Linked DNA regions of Homo sapiens: all the other regions are linked to region 2. Evidence: promoter capture Hi-C in 16 types of primary human blood cells and fetal thymus (Javierre and others, 2016). All regions are on one chromosome and are shown on one strand. Each heading gives the region's core, a stretch centred on a gene start or on the middle of the fragment in contact. The rest is flanking DNA. Distances are from core to core; before and after follow the strand shown. Region 1 holds the start of ZNF804B (zinc finger protein 804B). Region 2 holds the start of STEAP2-AS1 (STEAP2 antisense RNA 1). Region 3 holds the start of SRI (sorcin).

Region 1 (3,084 bases), core at 26-2,525, 1.5 Mb before region 2:
AATTAGCGCATTGGCGGTAGCCTTTCAATTCCAGCGCTGAAGCAACAGACTGAGAGGAGGTGAACCTTTACCTTCTCCCAGGCACAGACAAGGCGAGGTGAGGCAGAGATGGATTGCAGAACCGCATTAAGCAACCGCGGGGTGGAGGAGAGTGCAGGGTGTCTCCAAACCCTGGGAGGGCTATCTTCTCCTTTCAGAGCACATTTCTGCCCAGGTCTTTTTATTCTCAGTGCAGCTCGCTCCCTGGTGGCTTAAATTACGGTAAACGAAATAAGGTCCGTTAAAAACCACTTCTGAGAGGGGTGATTATTGGGGGTTTTGAAAGCACAGAGGTCTTATAGAGACCAAAAATATGTGCCTCGCTAAGATACAGAAAGGCTTGTAAGTGAATCTTCATAACTCTGGGTACGTGCATGTATATGCACATATACGTATGCATGTCTCGTTTCTATACCTTATATAAGTTTTCTGCCCAAAACTTTCCTCGTCCGTGCGTTCCCTACCACGGCGCATCTAATCTGTCTGCCCTATTTGTGGCTGCACAGCTCATTCTTGCAACCGGCTGGGGAGCTGTTGCTTCTGCCAACGCCGCCGTCAGCCAGAGCGCTGAAGAAAAGCTGAAGGCCAGCAGGCAACGAAAGAGTAAAGAAAACGCCCTCCTCCTGCCCATCTCCTCCACCACAGCCTCCCCAGTCCTCCCAGGTGACTCCCAAACAGTAGAAAGTTGGCTCAGAGATAGGGCAGAAGAACCGGGGGGCTGGGCGGCTGAGGCCGGGAGGTGGGAGAGGCGGGTCCTGCAGCCCCGAGAGCCCCCCGCGGCTGCAGCGGCAGCTGTCACCTCCTGGCCTCGCCCCACAGCACACCTGAGCCTCCTGGGCAGCCCCGAGCCCACAGCTCCCAGCAGAGGCGCTAACTGCCCTCCTCAAGCACAGGTCGCCGCGTCCCCAACTCCCTGTCCTCACCCCGGCCCGCCCGTCTCCTCCTCCGCCCTCTCCCGACTGCAGCGGGGGCAGCGCTTTGGCGCTCCCAAGGACTCCCCGCCACTCTCCCCACAAAGCAGCGGCGGTGGCGGCGGCTGCTGCTGGATCTTCACACTGCAGCCAGCAGCCCAGGACGCCCCCGGCCGGACGATGGGTACCCGCGCCTGAGCATCCCCCGGGCAGGCGCCAGGCGCGAAGGCAGGGGGCGGGAGGAAAGGGGCGGGGGAATTCCTGATTCCCTGGTGGACCCTGGAAGTTGTCCTTAAATAAATATATCGCTGGCCCGCGGTTGAGCAGCCACCTCGTCAGAGCAGCATGTGGACTGGCTCGCCGGGTCCCCTCCGTGCTCTGTGCTGTCGCCGCCGCCGCCTCTGTCAGAGCAGCAGCTGTCGGCAGCAGGAGCCCCGCACGGGGCGCGGAGCAGGGACGCGCTGCCACCGCCTCCCCCTGCGTCCTGCTGGCCGCGTCTTCTCGGGAGGTGGTAGTCGCTGTTGCCGCTGAGAAACCCGCCCGCTTTCCACGGCTGGTCGCCTGGTGAGGAGTTGAGACTCTGCGCCTCCGCCCGGACCCACATGGCTTGTTACCTGGTCATCAGTTCGAGACATCTCAGCAATGGGCACTACCGGGGCATTAAAGGAGTCTTCAGGGGACCCCTGTGCAAGAACGGATCTCCCTCTCCGGTAATGTGCGCGCGCACACACATACATACACAAACGTTCCAACTCAACACAAACAAAAAGATATTGAGAGATAGTATCCTGATACAATGAGTAGGTGGTGGACATCTAAAACGTATACCTTATCCATAGGTATGGAGATACATCGTGTCCGTTTATACAATTTATTGACAGACTGTGACACAGAGAGGGGTGTGTATTTACATGTGTATTTTCAATTCAGTCAGTAGGATCTATAGTGCTACGGATGTAAATACTTACTGAATGCAGTCAACTGCAGGGCTCAGAAGGTAGCTCCTCTGTGCTATGTCAACTTACGAATCTGCTGATTTGAGCAGTGTAGAAAGTTTGAGTGGCACGTTATAATGTGCTTTTGTAAAGTCATCAGTTGAGATTAGTTTAATAATGCTACTGTTACTTTGTGAGAAAAACTCAAAGATTTTCCCTCAAATCATTGGCAAAAGGAAAGTTATAGGTAGTGAAAACTTGATTATATCTAATGCTCAACTATGCACATTCTTTAAGGGGAAGTAAGAGAATTCTTTATGGAAATCTGAGTTGGATAATTTATTGTATAATATACAAATATATTAACATGCAATTAACGTGATTGCTTTTTAACTTAGTAAACTATTCAATTTAGTTACTATTCAGTTTATTCACATTCTTTTTATAAAATAATTTCATCCAGATTATATGAGTTAAATACATTATTAATTCATTTCTTGGTACATGCTATTATGTTTTAAGGCTCCAAATATGTTTCAAGAAAATGTGTGTGAATGTGTATGTGTGTGTAATTTATATATATATATAATAAATATATATATAATAAATATATATATAATAAATATATATATATATTAGTTTTGGACTACTAGTGACTAAGTATCCAAACTTAAAGACCAACTTTTGAGGTTTCATATAAAAAACAGTATTTAAGTCTGTATGATATCAAGAGGGAAAACTGAAATTGCCCAACTTTAATTTTTTTATGTTTGATATTTTCCATCATGGTTTAATGCTTCTTTAGCATGAATTATTCAAAACTGCAACATATTATAAAAGCCTTTGATTATTAATAAATGCTATATGTAATTTACATGAGAAATCTAAGATCAGAAAGTACAGGTGCCCAGAGATATCACTAGGATTCCTCATGACAAACTATTCCTTCACATGCTTTTATGTACTATAAAAAGTGGGTTGTTGCAACTGCTCCCCCCAACAACTGTATACAGTACTGAGTCAGAACTGTTAGATGGAAAATACTGTTTGTATAAGTACTTAACAATTAAACTCACAGGGTTAGCAGGCACTTGCAGAGTTCTAGTTTAATAAAGCCCACATTCAGTCCCTCTAAGTAGCAGGTCTGAATCTTTCCCATTTCTAAAGATTCTCAGAATTGGAGTTCCTGCAGTCTCAGC
Region 2 (3,219 bases), core at 10-2,509:
ATTTTCTCCACAAGTTCTCCAGAGGAACTACTAGAAAAAACTCCACGAATCTCATTATTTGACAGTTTTGTTGAAGTGAAATTATTAAAATTGATATTAGATTTAATGACTTGTTTCCAGTAACCAAAATGGAAAGTATTCTACCAGCTGTCGATGGTTCCACACCCTGACACATCGTTAAAACCTTAGCTTCTGCCTAAACTTTAAACCTTAATAATATTTGGCGGTAGGGGAGGGGTTACATTTCAAGTCAAACAAAGGATGTATTTCCAAAGCAGCATTTACAAAGGTTAATCTGTGTATGGACTACAAAGGGGAAAGTGCAGTGCCCCAGTGATCGATCTAAGACCCCCCTCTCGTTGTTGTTGTTGTTGGGTTTTTTTGGTCTGGTTAATAAACCACCTAGAGGGATAATTTTTAAACTTAATTTGTTGAAATGGTACTTTACTAATGTATGAAAAAAATTTCCCCAAATTTGAGAATTTTTGGTAAGTTGATTTTATATTTGGGAATAAAGATCTCTTGCTTCTTCTACTGACACCTTCTACACAAAAGATAAAAGGTACTTTTACTTGGTAATCCGCAGGGAGAAAATTTACAGAAACCCAGAGCCAAAGGTGCTCTCAGGGGATCCCCTGAAACATTCAAAGCCATTGCGGCCCCAGAAGGTAAATGGCTTTCGCAGGAACACAGGTCTCCTGACTCACGGCCTAACCTTCCTTTCCCCCACACCAAAGCTCGCGCGGCACCAGCTAGAGTGAAGGTCAAAGTCAACAGAATAATCTCTGCAGTCCAGGGTCTGTGAGGGTCCTCCTATCCGAGGGAGTTTTCATGAAAGGGCATTTCCGAACATTTTATTCCAAGGACACAGTCTAGTCAAAAGACGTTTGGGATAGGGTAAACATGAGGCAAAAGAACACTTACAAAAGAAAAAAGCGCAGTTTCTTGGAGGCTTGTCAGAAGCTAAGACTGGGGAGATGAGAACCAGGGCCCTTGGCGAGAGTTGGGGTGGGAATCGCGTAAGAAAAGCAATTTCTAGAGCGGAAAGGTGACCCCACATTACAAAAAGAAATGGAGTAGAAAAATAGGCTTGACTATTCTAAAGCTGCTTCAGAAAGAATCTCCGGAAGACCACGGAGGAACCCCGCAGGGGAGCCAGGCGGATACTCAGCCGCTCGCGGTAGAAGGGCGCGCAAAGCTGCGGAGCCGCGTGTGTGGAGCTCCCCAGTGCACTCACTGCTGGCTCCCCCTCGGTGCTCTGGGCCCTTCCCAGCTCCCTCCACACAGCCCGGCTCCCTTCACACACCCCCGCCCCCTCCGAGCTCCCCGACTCCTCCCCGCGCTCCACGGCTCTTCCCGACTCCAGTCAGCGTTCCTCGGGCCCTCGGCGCCACGAGCTGTCCGGGCACGCAGCCCCTAGCGGCGCGTCGCTGCCAAGCCGGCCTCCGCGCGCCTCCCTCCTTCCTTCTCCCCTGGCTGTTCGCGATCCAGCTTGGGTAGGCGGGGAAGCAGCTGGAGTGCGACCGCCGCGGCAGCCACCCTGCAACCGCCAGTCGGAGGTGCAGTCCGTAGGCCCTGGCCCCCGGGTGGGCCCTTGGGGAGTCGGCGCCGCTCCCGGGGAGCTGCAAGGCTCGCCCCTGCCCGGCGTGGAGGGCGCGGGGGGCGCGGAGGTGAGCGGGTCGGGGAGGAGCGCGAAAGAAGGTAGCGGCGGCGGAGTTGAGGGTCAAGATGCAGTCTGCGCCACGCGCTGCATCCATCCTCCCCGATTCTGCGCCCTCACCGGGCGTCCGCCCTGAGCTGCGGGGTCCCTCATCTCCTGGCACCTTAAGGTGGAAAGTGAGAAGGGTGGAGAAGGGTGTCTGTTCCACTGATTCCCCCTCCTCCTCCTCTTGGTTCCTAGAGCTAAGGGCAAGTCCTGAGGTTGGGCCCAGGAGAAAGAAGGCAAGGAGACATTGTCCCAGGTAGGATGTGTCCCAGCAGGAAAGGACAGGCAGGTTACTTTCGCCCCCTTGATAGTCTCCCTGCTACTTTGGGTTGATGCAGGGCATTTCATGGAAGATCATGCAGTGCTGCTTTGCGAACAGGTATTTCTAGCAGTCATTTGGTTTATTTCCCAGTAATGTAATCGTGGTGTTTAGGCCATTTCTGTTAGAAAGTAATTGGCCTCTTCTTTGACTGTCCTAAATTATCTTTGAACCCTGTGTTCAGCCTCAGCCAAAACTTGTTGAAAATTATGCCCTAAAAATCTTGCTCTTAAAATAGAGCAGAGAGATAAAGAGCATTTTTGTTGGAAGATTTCCATTTATTATCTCTCCCACCCCGTGGAGAAGGATTGGTGTCAGTTTTTACTCCTCGGGCAGTTAGTTTTTTAGATGGAAAGACAGTCCAGGCCATAGTTAATTATCGCTCATCAGTATAGGAGAAAAAGAATTCAGACTCCTGCCCCACCCCCACCCCCACCCCCAACCTCCTGACTTAGATTCTGGTCCTTTTAACAGCCCCGCTGCTTGGAACCCTTTTTGTTTTCTAAACCACCTCCCCATCCTTCCTTTTCTCCACTTTATTATTTCTTCATTTTATTGATCTGTTTATTTTTTCTTTCTTTAACCCTATAATTTTTTTACTCCGATTCTCTCTTGGTTGCTTCAAAGCTTAGAGGCTATTTAATGGAAAAGCAAAACAAAACAAAACAAAACACCCGTCCTAAATAATTTGCAGGATGTTTAGAAACATAAAGAGTAACTATGTGTGCTGCCATTGGGATGGCTGCACTCTCTGCCTCTTAGCTAGTCACTCTGTCAGGGTATGGGGAAATGAGACAATATTGAGAATGACAACTTGAGCAAATTGTGCAGTAAGGAAATGAAAAGCTTTATCCAAGTCACTTTTTATTGTACTGGTGCTATGGAAAATGTGGTGAATGAACATAGTTGTATTTTAGTACTGAAAAAACAGGACAGGTGAAGACAAATTTTTAAAGAAAGGATTGTAAATGAGTTAGAAAAGTGAGAAAGAAGATACACCAAAAATGTGAAAGAGTAAGACTGCAGGCGTGATAAAGGACATAGGACATCAGGAGATGTATTTATCCCTGCTGGGCCAGAAACCAGGACATTGAGGTAACTGAGACATTAACATAACAATAACATTGATAAATCACCTACCCCTTAAGGGCCCACATGTGTTTTCAGCAAAAAGAGAAATCTGATCTAGAGAATT
Region 3 (3,110 bases), core at 100-2,599, 2.0 Mb before region 2:
ATTCTGAACATTCAGAAATAAAAAACTAAAATAAGAAACAACTTTTTTTTTCTTTTGCAGAAGCAAAGGGACTCAGTACCACAGGAAGTTCGCTTTTCTGTGTCACTATATCAAAAGCTACCACAAATGCAGACAATAACGGCTCTTTAATATTAAAGGGAAAAGCTAACCTGTCCAGCTACAGCAGCAAAGTAACCATACAGCGGATCCTGAGTTTGTCCGGGAAACGCAGGCCCTCCGGGAGCCCCTCCATACTGTGAAACAGGAAACACATACACGTCATTCTGCCGAATCAAGTTTTCTTCTTTCACCACTGAGGGCTTTTGTGCAAGGCCAGACAACTGCCCGCCTGCCCGCCCTTCACAAGGCTCACCTCCCCACCACCGGGCACACTCTGCCAACACTCCACCCCTCTCTTCCATTCACACCCCGTAATTTAAAAACTGGCGACTTAGACCATAAAGAGTTGCTGTGAAAGTGATGTCTACATATGTAAAGCAACTTTTAAAATCCCTATTAACCTGAAGGTTACTGAGGTGAGTGCAAACTAGGTAAGCCAACGAATGGCAGGGCTTCAAATTCTCCTTTTGTTGTTACAGCATTTATGGTATTTTAAGAGCGTTTTATGAACGATGGAAGGCTGGAGTTGGTAACATTCTGAGACGGGTGTAGCCTAGGGAAGAGTAAGGTGTCCGGCCGGGCTGTATCTCGTGGGTGGCGAGGGAACATTGCCTGTCTCGGAAACAGTTCCCAAGACAACGCGCATCCCAGACGCCCGGCGAGGCTGCCTTCCTACAGGTCTTTTACTTCAGCAGGTTTTCCCTTTTTTTCCGTCCCCCTTCTCACTCGTTTTTTGTTTGTTTGTTTGTTTGTTTGTTTGTTTGTTTTTTAAAGGGAGGAAGGTATATCATTCTAGAATAAAATGACTGTTGTTGCTCTGGGAGGCAACCAAGAAGGCGGGGGTGGGGTGGGGTGGGGGTCAGCCAACACCCAATTAACACGATTTCACGCCGCGTATCCGAGAAGCCGCAGGGTGGGCTTCTAGGGTCCCAATCCACCCTCACCTTGGCCCCGCAGGGCCATCCAGGAGAAGGGACGGGGAAACGTGGGGAGAGGCCGAACCCCAGGGGCCTAGGGCGAGGCCGCGAGCGCAGGGAGAAGCCGAGGGCGGAAGGAGCCCGGGTAGCCGCCCAGCAGCGCCTCACCCCGCTGGCCGCAGCATCTCCAAGGTGGCCTCTTAGCGCCCCGGAGCCGCCTGGGCCGCGATCCCGCGCAGTCAGCACTTACCCCGCCTGGGTAGTACCCGCCGCCGGCGCCAGGATGCCCCGGGTACGCCATGCTGCAGACTGCGCCGCAGCCGCCCTCGCCCTGTGCGCCAGGCCTCTCCGCCCCCTGCCCCGCCCCGCCCTGCCGCTAGGGGGCCGCCCCAGAGCGCACCACGCGGGCGTGGGGGACGCGCTCCGCAGTCGTCTCCAGCTCTTGCCTGTGCGCGCGGCCGTGGCTCCCCTGCCTGCGCGCTTCTTCGTATCTTTGCCATTACGGCGCTAATGCAGTGCACGACTGAAGGTCCAGTGGCGGCCTACGACCTGCGAGGCAATTCACACCAGGGACTTTCCTCCCTCCAAAACTAATGGCACATTCCAACACCAATACACCACCCCAGGAATTCTTTTTTTTTTTTTTTCCTTCGGACTTGGCTATTATCTGGCACATTTCTTATTTTAAACAACTTTATTGGACAGGACGGAGCTATTATAAGCGGAGCGCACCATCGCGAGGCAGGGGCTGGATGCGTTAGGGCAAGCCTTAGGTGCCAGTGGGTGAAGGAGTCTTTGAAAGATGGAAATACGAAAGCGCCCTTGGAAAATAAGAATTAACTTGACGAACTGTGTGCAAGGGAGAGTTTGGCTTGCTGTTGGTTGCAGAGTTCACTGAACGACAACGGCGTATTTCCTTCCTAGGGGACAATTCCTTGCCTGTTTAAGCTGAGCGTGACTTGTGTCCTGAGTAGGACAGAGGGCATTTTCCGGGCAGGACAGACTCACACATATCGTTCTTAGGAAAATGAATTGTTTGAATTATCTGGATGATTCAGACAAAACAATCCATTTCCCTAAAAGTATTCAGCTACTTTTTATATAAGAAAAGTTTAGAACAAACTAATAGTGTACTGGTAAGTATTCAGGAAGATAAGAGATAGGAACTTCTATGTAGGTTATTCTTCTTTACTTCATATATTTTTCTATCTTCCAGTTGAATAGTCCGAAGCAATTCAGGCGTGAGCTTTTTGTTTTGTTTTGTGTAATTTCAATGACAGAAAATTGCTTGCCCTTCACTGTTAAGGACTAGACTTAATGATTTCCTGAATTTTAACGTATTGAGAAACGCATTAATAAGCAAGATTCACAGTATTTGTTGTGGAGGTTGCACAGAAACATTTAAAGGGTCATCAACATTTCACAAATATTGGAGCACCCGCCAATGTGGTACTGTGCTTTTTCGCTGTGGTGGACGGGCTTCCTCCATTCTAAATTCGTGGGCTATTGTCCTCATTCGGTTCATTGTTTTTCTCTTGTGTGTAACTTCCCTCGCAAGCCCTTTTGAAAACCAAAGTCCGAATTGTGAGAAAAATTCTAATAGTCCCTGTTGTGGCATAGCAAAGACACTGCATGTTGCCTGTTTTGTGTTTGATTCAGGAAGCAGGTTACTGTTTTCAATCATCAAGGTAGCAATCATCAAGGTAGATGAGACATCTAATGAGTCCCCTGGTCTCTCTTTGGAAGCCTGTTTCTTCAGAAAGAGGTAACCGACTATAAAGAGTAGATGTCAGGGCCGAACTCGATGTTGAGTACAAGCTCAAGACTCAAGTTTGAAAGAAGTATAAAGCATATAAAATATTTTTAAGTACTGCAGAATTAGCTTCGTGGATAAACGGCTATACGAATTGGCATATCAGTTGTCCTTAGACATCTTCCCACTGCTTTACTGCTAAAGAATTGAATTTTTTTTTTAATTACACTTTAAGTTTTAGGGTACATGTGAACATTGTGCAGGTTGGTTACATATGTATACATGTGCCATGCTGGTGCGCTGCACCCACTAACTCGTCA

What was found. The method cuts DNA at HindIII sites, captures the fragments that hold promoters and counts their contacts. A CHiCAGO score of 5 or more calls a contact.
Region 1: a contact is called between the fragment with the promoter of ZNF804B here and the fragment with the promoter of STEAP2-AS1 in region 2, in 9 of 17 cell types (neutrophils, total B cells, erythroblasts and 6 more). The highest score is 9.0, in neutrophils.
Region 3: a contact is called between the fragment with the promoter of SRI here and the fragment with the promoter of STEAP2-AS1 in region 2, in 1 of 17 cell types (M0 macrophages). The highest score is 5.6, in M0 macrophages.

What each region holds. Positions count from the first base shown.
Region 1 is chr7:88,758,425-88,761,508 of GRCh38, forward strand. ZNF804B (zinc finger protein 804B) reads left to right here and starts at 1,276. Exons shown (of 4, transcript NM_181646.5): 1 at 1,276-1,660. The coding sequence starts at 1,553. RefSeq lists an enhancer at 1,422-1,966. The HindIII fragment of the contact is 11,667 bases long and covers 1-3,084 here.
Region 2 is chr7:90,210,376-90,213,594 of GRCh38, forward strand. STEAP2-AS1 (STEAP2 antisense RNA 1) reads right to left here and starts at 1,260. Exons shown (of 3, transcript NR_110029.2): 1 at 925-1,260. STEAP2 (STEAP2 metalloreductase) reads left to right here and starts at 1,365. Exons shown (of 6, transcript NM_001244944.2): 1 at 1,365-1,670. RefSeq lists a silencer at 1,468-1,527. The HindIII fragment of the contact is 5,296 bases long and covers 1-2,649 here.
Region 3 is chr7:88,218,689-88,221,798 of GRCh38, forward strand. SRI (sorcin) reads right to left here and starts at 1,350. Exons shown (of 8, transcript NM_003130.4): 1 at 1,288-1,350; 2 at 171-254. The coding sequence starts at 1,338. SRI-AS1 (SRI antisense RNA 1) reads left to right here. Exons shown (of 3, transcript NR_120517.1): 2 at 61-536. RefSeq lists silencers at 336-425, 1,073-1,572. The HindIII fragment of the contact is 22,346 bases long and covers 1-3,110 here.